2 separate regions of the Homo sapiens genome follow, and region 1 is linked to region 2. Evidence: promoter capture Hi-C in 16 types of primary human blood cells and fetal thymus (Javierre and others, 2016). All regions are on one chromosome and are shown on one strand. The core of a region is centred on a gene start or on the middle of the fragment in contact, and the rest is flanking DNA. Distances in the headings are between cores, read along the strand shown.

The links. The method cuts DNA at HindIII sites, captures the fragments that hold promoters and counts their contacts. A CHiCAGO score of 5 or more calls a contact.
Region 1: a contact is called between a fragment that was not itself captured here and the fragment with the promoter of SERINC4 in region 2, in 1 of 17 cell types (megakaryocytes). The highest score is 6.6, in megakaryocytes.

Annotation. Positions count from the first base shown.
Region 1 is chr15:43,429,850-43,433,789 of GRCh38, forward strand. TP53BP1 (tumor protein p53 binding protein 1) reads right to left here. Exons shown (of 28, transcript NM_001141980.3): 17 at 2,345-2,828. Among named protein-coding and RNA genes, the nearest start is that of TUBGCP4, 61 kb to the left of the region's middle. The HindIII fragment of the contact is 4,515 bases long and covers 95-3,940 here.
Region 2 is chr15:43,798,970-43,803,223 of GRCh38, forward strand. It overlaps SERINC4 (serine incorporator 4), which reads right to left and starts at 1,251. Exons shown (of 12, transcript NM_001258031.2): 1 at 916-1,251; 2 at 341-517; 3 at 1-168. The coding sequence starts at 1,017. HYPK (huntingtin interacting protein K) reads left to right here and starts at 1,630. Exons shown (of 4, transcript NM_016400.4): 1 at 1,630-1,815; 2 at 2,163-2,218; 3 at 2,549-2,600; 4 at 2,742-4,254. The coding sequence starts at 1,654. The coding sequence ends at 2,837. It overlaps SERF2-C15ORF63 (SERF2-C15orf63 readthrough), which reads left to right. Exons shown (of 6, transcript NR_037673.1): 3 at 1,526-1,815; 4 at 2,163-2,218; 5 at 2,549-2,600; 6 at 2,742-3,620. RefSeq lists enhancers at 348-1,048, 1,049-1,749, 1,657-1,906. The HindIII fragment of the contact is 2,702 bases long and covers 1-1,523 here.

The sequences.
Region 1 (3,940 bases), core at 1,102-3,601, 370 kb before region 2:
CCTGCCTGCACACACAATCAGACTATTCCGCACTAAAGAGAAAGTCAGTCTAAAAGGTTTCAGTGCTTTACATATTCCTGAAATGCAGCCAAGAAGCTTCCCTGTATTCTTCCAGTTACAACAGCCATATGAATGATCACTTCAAGACAGACACTTAAGCGTGTCTGAGAGAATAAGGAGAAAAGGTAAAGAGGGCAGACAGAAAACTATGTTTACTCACTTCAAATACTCTTCTGAAAAGAGGTGTCTGTAAAATAAATAAATTGATGATCTTACCACCATTAAGGGAAGGAAACAAAATGAAAATAAAACCACACTTTCCCTTCCACCTGGTTCCACGTCCTTTTTGACATATAAATGAAAATTTCAGGAGTGTCAAAGTAGGCTGCCTATGCTTTTCCACTAGCACTAGCCTATGTCCTATCTACACTGAAGGGGATTTTTAAAAAGCACCGACACCTGGAAAACTTGCATACAGCCTTTCTCATTTGCTAACCTCTCTTCAAAAGATGGCACACCAATTTCAATTTCTGTTATTCTATACACCATCTATATATTTTTACTATGGTAAAATCTGCATAACATAAAATATATCATTGTCTTGAACACAATGCTCATATCCCATATGTGCCACAGGTGTTCAATAAATAAGAACTGTATTTTATTTTTACAAAACAAACAACTTGGACAATCAAAATGAGAGGTATATCAATAATGAAGATTTCCTAAGTAGATCCCAAATGAAGATAATCTACCACAGCAACTGAAAAAGCAATTTGACCACTACAATATCTCCTTTATCTGAGGGAGATATGTGCCAAGACCCCCAGTGGATGCCTGAAACTGCAGATAATATCAAACCCTATACACTATGTTTCTTCCTATACATACAGACCTATAATGTTTATAAATCAGGCACAGAAAGATTAATAACTAATAATAAGATAAACTATAACAATATACTGTTCACAATTTCATGGATAGATTTGTTCTTACCACAGATTTTAGTAACTTCAGCATATGATTTTTTTTCTTTCCTTATTAAGACCTTTTACCTTTTCACTTAGAGGAAGCACTTTATGACTTACTTCTCTGGCATATTCAGATTGCCGGCATCACTACTCTCAAACTTTGGGGTGAGAGTAAAACAAGGGTTACTTGAATGCAAGCAATGCAATACCATGAGAGTTGATCTGATAACCAAGACAGCTACTAAGTCATTAACAGGCAGGGAGCATATATAGCATATGGATATGCTAGAAAAAGGGAGGATTCATATCCTAGCCAGGACTAAGAGGGACAGCACTTTATCACATTACTCAGAACAGCACAGTATTTAAACCTTAGTATTTCTAGAATTTTCCATTTAGTATTTCTGGACTGCAGCTGACCATGGGCAACTAAAACCACCAAGAAAAAGAAACCACTGATAAGCAGAGACTACTGTTTACTAGTAACTTCCAAATTTTCTCTGCCATAGATCCCACTCTGCCACTCAATGAAATGTTGTGAACTTCTACGTATTTGTTAACACATACATTTCTACGACTTCTTTTCATCTACTCAATTTTTTTTTTAAGAGACAAGGTCTCACTATGTTGCCCAGTCTAGTCTCAAACTCCTGGGCTCAAGTAATCCTCCCACCTGAGCCTCCAAAAGCGCTGGGATTTCAGGCATGTGCCACCAGGCACAGCCACCTACTTAATTTTTACTAGTACCGACACTTCCCTACTCTATTCCCTGGAACCTGATACTCCTCCAGCCTCGTTTTCATCAGCCCCAATCCTTTTCTTCACATTAGCTTCTAGTCTAGCCTCTCTTCTGCAGTTCTTGGTCACCTGGGGACTTTTCCCCATCTCTCTCTCTATTCCTGTTACCATTCTTTCTGTTTCATATACTGAAATACACTATTCTTCGTGCTGCTTCTTTCCCCCTTACCTTCTACTCTCTGAATTCCTGAGAACCATGATGAAATAGACTTAAGGGAGAGAAAATTAGATCTGATGGTTAGAAGGCAAGATAAAAAGTATGGAGAAGGAAAAGAGTGAATGTAGAAGAGTATTACAGGACCCAGGCAGAATCTCTGGCTTTCTTCTCCAGTAAAGACCTACCTAAAAAACTGTAGCAATACTACATTTTCCCTAAAAGACTATCTAATGGCTATAGCTACCCACAATTTCACTACCATATCTGTATCTTAGAAAAGTTGTTTTTGTCTTTTAACCACTGTTCTGTACAAAACTGTCAAGAATTGTCATTAGGCAGACATGCCACAACTTAAATTCTCTGAGAATCCTGAAAGTTAAAAACAAGGCCTCTGATGCACCCTAGTATGTTCTCTCACCTGGCTATGGAGCGACTCTGTATCATCCCCAGGAGCACTGACTGGTTTCTCACCACTCCCCCTCTCAGTCTGAACTGTGGCATCTTGCTTTCCAAAGTTCTGGTCCACTGTACTGGTCCCCTGCTCACACACATTCTTTATAGTCTGGGTTGCTGCTGAAACAGTTTCTGGGACCCTCAAGGAACACTCCATGGTTTGGATTCCTATGTTATTTTGGCTGGGCCTTTCAATCAAGGCCTTACTAGGATTTTCCTTATTAGTACTCCGTCCTTCTTTCTGGTCTTCTAGCACATCTGTCACCATTGCCTCTCCTTGAGGACTGGATGGCCCTTGTATGACCATCTTCTGGGAAGCAGGAGAAACAGGGTCCTTGACAGGACTAATGGGCTTCATAGGCTGTTGACTCTGCCTGATTGTATGGTCACCCTCCAATTTTTCTTTCTCCTCTTCTCCTTGAGAACTTGGAAAGTGGAGCAAGTTCCCCCTGAAAATGCAACATATAAAGAAGCCATGTCAATTAAGCAAGTGTATGTGTGAACGTGTGTGTGTGCGTGTGCATGTGTGTGTGTAGTGGCAAGGGGGGAGCCATATTTTGACAATTTGAGAAATGTAAGGAAGGGAGAAAGTCAGGTAGTCAAGCATTATCACCTTGGGAGGCCTCTCATTATAATTTCACTCCTGTAAAAAAAATAATGGTAGATAGAACAATTCCACCATGATGATAAAAGAGTCATAAAATTTCTTCCCATCACTAGCTATGAACTCTGAAACTTGATGCAGGAAAATGAAGTAAACAAAAAGATGTAAACCCATTACTGAAGTCATAGACAATGAAGGGCAACTTAGGGATCTATTTTGAAAAAAGATCAATTAAGTCAAGATGTCTTATCTGGCCTTATGATGGTTCTAACATTCCTTAACTGATTCCTAGCATTCTAGATACTGTTTATCCCCACCTGAGCAATATTTTTAGGAAAGAAAATCTGACTTACAAAGGATAAAGCTGTAGGTAGATTCTAGTTTTGTCAGCTATACTGATATATCTACAACTAAACATTTCAGAATGAATTGGTTTCTCAAAGACAGTTCTTAAGATACAGCCCATTTTTTTTCATAAGTCATCCCATTTGGGTATCAGTGATTCGTTCCTTTATTCCACAAGCATTTGCTGAATGTCTCCTACAAACCACATACCACGATTTCCGAAGTGACTAGGAGCTTTCTTAAATATCCCTAACAATTCTCCAGAATAAAAACGTCCAGGCTAACTCCAAGTCAACAGAAATTTGACATTCATGTCTTATCTATCTTTATATTTAAAACACCTAACTCACAGCTTAATATAAAATAGATGCTTAATACATGTACTTTGAACAGAAGACTGAATGTTCTCTGAATCAATTAATTGCAAAATCTACTCAGATTAAATCAACATAATGCAGTTTTAGGCTCCATTACACGCACAATAGCCAGAATAAAAATAAAAGGAATCCATTCTGAACTGACCATGCTAAGACCACATCTGGAATATCTGTTTCAGTTCTCGGCATGACAGTTTACAAGGCATAAACTGTAGATAAACTCAGAAGGTAACAT
Region 2 (4,254 bases), core at 1-2,500:
CTGTGCCCGCGGGCTGGTGGGGGAGTGGAGGTGGACCAGCAACACAGCCTGCAGCAGGTGGAAGGTGGCGGTTCCTGCACATACTCGGTACACAGCCCCAGAGCCACTGAGCACTGGACAGTCAGAGAGGCCAAACAGGTGGGCACACAACCCCGAGGGCATCTGGATCTGGGAGTGTGTGTGAGAGAAATGGCAGGACAAGTCATAATGCATGGAAAGGTACCTACTTGTCACGGGTATGACCACTCATTTGTCTCCTGCCCCCAACCGAAACCTTTTCTATCTTAGGGTTTTTCCTTTTATCTCTTCCCACCTGACAACCCGACCCCCTCTCACTTACCCTGTGTGTCTTGCCCCACACCCTTTCCACTACTGTCCTTGACAGCAGGAGGCAGCAGATTGCTGAGGCCCCCACATGGAGGAGGATGTAGAACAGGCGGCTGCAAGTGGATGCGGTGAGAGAGGGCCACCTAGAGTGGCAGCAGCTGGCACAAGGAGCAGGCCCACAGCAGCACACCTGGGAGTAGAGCAGATGCAAGGCAGCGAGGTGGAGACTTGCTGAGGAAAGGCATACGTTAATGTATGTGTGAGGTTAACCCAGGAGGTTGAATTCCAAAATTTCCCCTTCCCCTTTCTTCCTTTTACTCAGGTTCTGTTTCAAGCTGATTCCAGCCATTTGGGATTGCCGCCCACTGACAACTTAGTAGGGCTTTCATTATAAGCAGGCTTGAGATATCTGACCTTTCTCTCGACCTAAACACCTGGGGCTGGAAACATGGCGGGAGAGATTTACAGATTATACCTGGGGCAACGAACCAGAACGACATTAGAGGAGAAAAGAGGCCTGTCGTTTTTATTGGCTTCTGCACGTCTTCCTCCCCAGCTTCGGCCACTCTCCCCTTCGCACCCTCTCACCTGACAGAAGGGACTTTTCACTAGGACACTGCTGCCTCCGCTGTGCTGCTGTGCCAGGCCCAGGGAGGTGCCGGGGCTGGGGCCGGCCTTGGCACCCACCATCCTTGTCCCAGGGATTAGGCTTAGGTCCACCAGATGGAAGGCAGATGAGAGCAGCAGTTGCTTCTGTCCTCAGCCCATTGGACTGCCACTGTGTTGGGGCTGAGCACCCGGTCCCGGGCAGAATGGAGACGTCCGGAAGAGAACACTGACCTCCAGGTTGCGGTAAATGCAAATGCCCTGTGAAGGAGCTTTGTCCTTAGGGCCTCAACACTGCGGCCACTCAGGCTGTTCTCTCCAGATTAGGGGGCAGTTTGTCTATCTGGCCCCCTGTGGATTAGCATTCTTTATTGGTTTAGGATTAGACGTCATTCAGGTTGAACGGAGTTCCCTGAGGTGGGTGGGTGCGTGTTTATGTGTTGAGGGGACTATTCCTAGTTTATGAGGTGGTTAAGGATATCGGTGGGGTGGGCTGGAGCGGTGTCGGGTTAGGTCTGAGAGAAGGCCTCGCACAAAACACTGTACAAACCCGAAAGGAAGTCTGAGAGACGAACCGCCTTCCTCCCTGAAGCTTCTAGAACTGGAGCAGAAAGAAGGTGTGGCCCAGGGCCAGCCCCGCCTCCTCCCCGGGCGGAAGCTGTGTCAGTTGCCGGAAGTCGGCGTGAGGTGGGGCTTATGCGGCGGCGTGGTGAAATAGATATGGCGACCGAGGGGGATGTGGAGCTGGAGTTGGAGACTGAGACCAGTGGACCAGAGCGGCCTCCGGAGAAGCCACGGAAACATGACAGCGGTGCGGCGGACTTGGAGCGGGTCACCGACTATGCAGAGGAGAAGGAGATCCAGAGTTCCAATCTGGAGACGGTAAGGTTGGCCAAGAGCATGTCGGGGCGGGCTGAGAGCAGAGGGGGGCTCTGAGGCTGTAGCTGGAAGCCAGCGCTCCAAGACGGGGTTCTGATCCCGTTGGCAGGAGGAGGCAATAGGGTAGAGCCGAGGGAAACAGCGGTCACCGGAGCGCGCCGCTTGCCTAAAGGAGCTTGATAGTGGGCTTAAGGGGACCTCAGGTGCATAGAATGGAATTAAACATAGTCCTTGCTACCTGGTAACACTTGTCATCGTGAATCCATGCATGAACCGCTTGTTTTGTTGGCCTTTTAGATTATTGGGAATTGTGGGTAGCGGTGCAGTAACTAGACCTGCCTTTCCCATAGGCCATGTCTGTGATTGGAGACAGAAGGTCCCGGGAGCAGAAAGCCAAACAGGAGCGGTAAGTCTTCAGGGGCAGCCAACTTTAACAGTTCTTCCCTCCCCGGTCCCCAGACAAAAATAAAAACCATTATTAAGCCTTTATACCGTTCTTCAAATTTATCACCAATTCCTGCAGATCTAGGCGCCACAACTTTACTCTTGTTAGCAGAAGGCCTCCTGGCAACACCTGCTGCCAAGACTCCAGGGGAAAGGAGTATTAGTGGGAGTTTTTATTTTCAATCAAGGGTTTATCAAGATTTATTTACAGGGCACTTCTGGGAATGACCCTTCCTGGGAGTTTATGGTGTTGGTTGAGAATGAGGACTAATATATTTAAATATTTTTGCAGGGAGAAAGAACTGGCAAAAGTCACTATCAAGAAGGAAGATCTGGAGCTAATAGTGAGTGGTAGTGCCTAACTAGTGTATGCGGAGGGGAGGCTATTCTGCTTAATTTGGGTTGTTTCCTGAAACAAGCGGAGTCAGTATATTTGGTGGCACATTAATGCCTGGGAACCTATGTAACATGATTTTTTTCTGCAGATGACTGAGATGGAGATATCTCGAGCAGCAGCAGAACGCAGTTTGCGGGAACACATGGGCAACGTGGTAGAGGCGCTTATTGCCCTAACCAACTGATGCGTGCTTTCTCAAATATACCTACTGGATTAATTTATGGCAATAAAATTTTTTTTTGTCTTTTTCAGTTTTATCATCTTGGGTCAAGTAGAGTGTATACTATATCCTATGTTGTGGAGAATTTATATGTTGGAGACTAACTGAATTTAAGTGACCCATTAAAATCTAGCACACCTGTATGAAAAATCAGTGTAGAAGAATACCTCATGTGCAGATGCTAGGTGGCAGGCCAGTCTCATTCATCTGACTAGCTCTCAACAGTATTCAAGGTACATCTGGAGTCTCAGCAGAGTTACTGTACTCAAATGGCATGTGTCTCCAAGACAGCTTATGAATATCTAAAAGGCCAGCTACCTGCCTAGGAGCCACTATATATATAGATAGATGTAGGTTATGAACCCAGTTCATAGGCCACCTTGAGTTAGAATTTTGGTACCTACAACATGCTTGATTTTGAGTGATTAAAAAAAAATAATTTGGCTGGGTGCTGTGGCTCACACCTCTAATCCCAGCACTTTGGGAGGTCGAGGCAGGTAGATCACGAGGTCAGGAATTCAAGACCAGCCTGGCCAACATGTGAAACCCCGTCTCCACTGAAAATAGAAAAATTAGCTGGGCATGGTGGTGGGCGCCTATAATCCCAGCTATTCTGGAGGCTGAGGCAGGAATCGCTTGAAATTGGAAAGCAGAGGTTGCAGTGAGCTGAGATCACACTACTGTACTACTGTACTCCAGCCTGGGGGAAAGAGTGAAACTCCATCTCAAAAAAAAAAAAAAAAAAAAAAGCCCGGGCACAGTGGCTCACACCTGTAATCCCAGCACTTTGGGAGGCTGAGGCAGTCGGATCATGAGGTCAGGAGTTGAAGACAAGCCTGGCCAACATGGTGAAACCCTGTCTCTACTAAAAATACAAAAAAAATAAAATTAGCCAGGCGTGGTGGTGCATGCCTGTAGTCCCAGCTACTCAGGAGGCTGAAGCAGAAGAATTGCTTGAACCAGGGAGGCGGAAGTTGCAGTGAGCTGAGATTGTGCCACTGTACTCCAGCCTGGGTGACAGAGCGAGACTGTCTCAAAAACAAAACAACAAAAAAGAATTTAGGGGCCAGGCATGGTGGCTCATGCCTGTAATCCCAACACCTTGGGAAGCTGAGGCAAGACGATCACTTGAGCCCAGCAGTTTGAGACCAGCTTGGGCAACACAGTGAGATTTCGTCTCTACCGCGCTCCCCCCACCACCAAAAAAAGAATTTAGGTACCTGAGGGTTAGAACATGGTAAGACTAGAAGATATCAAAGGTTGGGCCAGGTGTGGTGACTCATGCCTGTAACCCCAGCACTTTGGGGAGGCTGGGCTGGGAGGACTGTGTCAGGTCAGGATTTCCAGACCAGCCTGGGCAACATAGCATGACCTTGTCTCT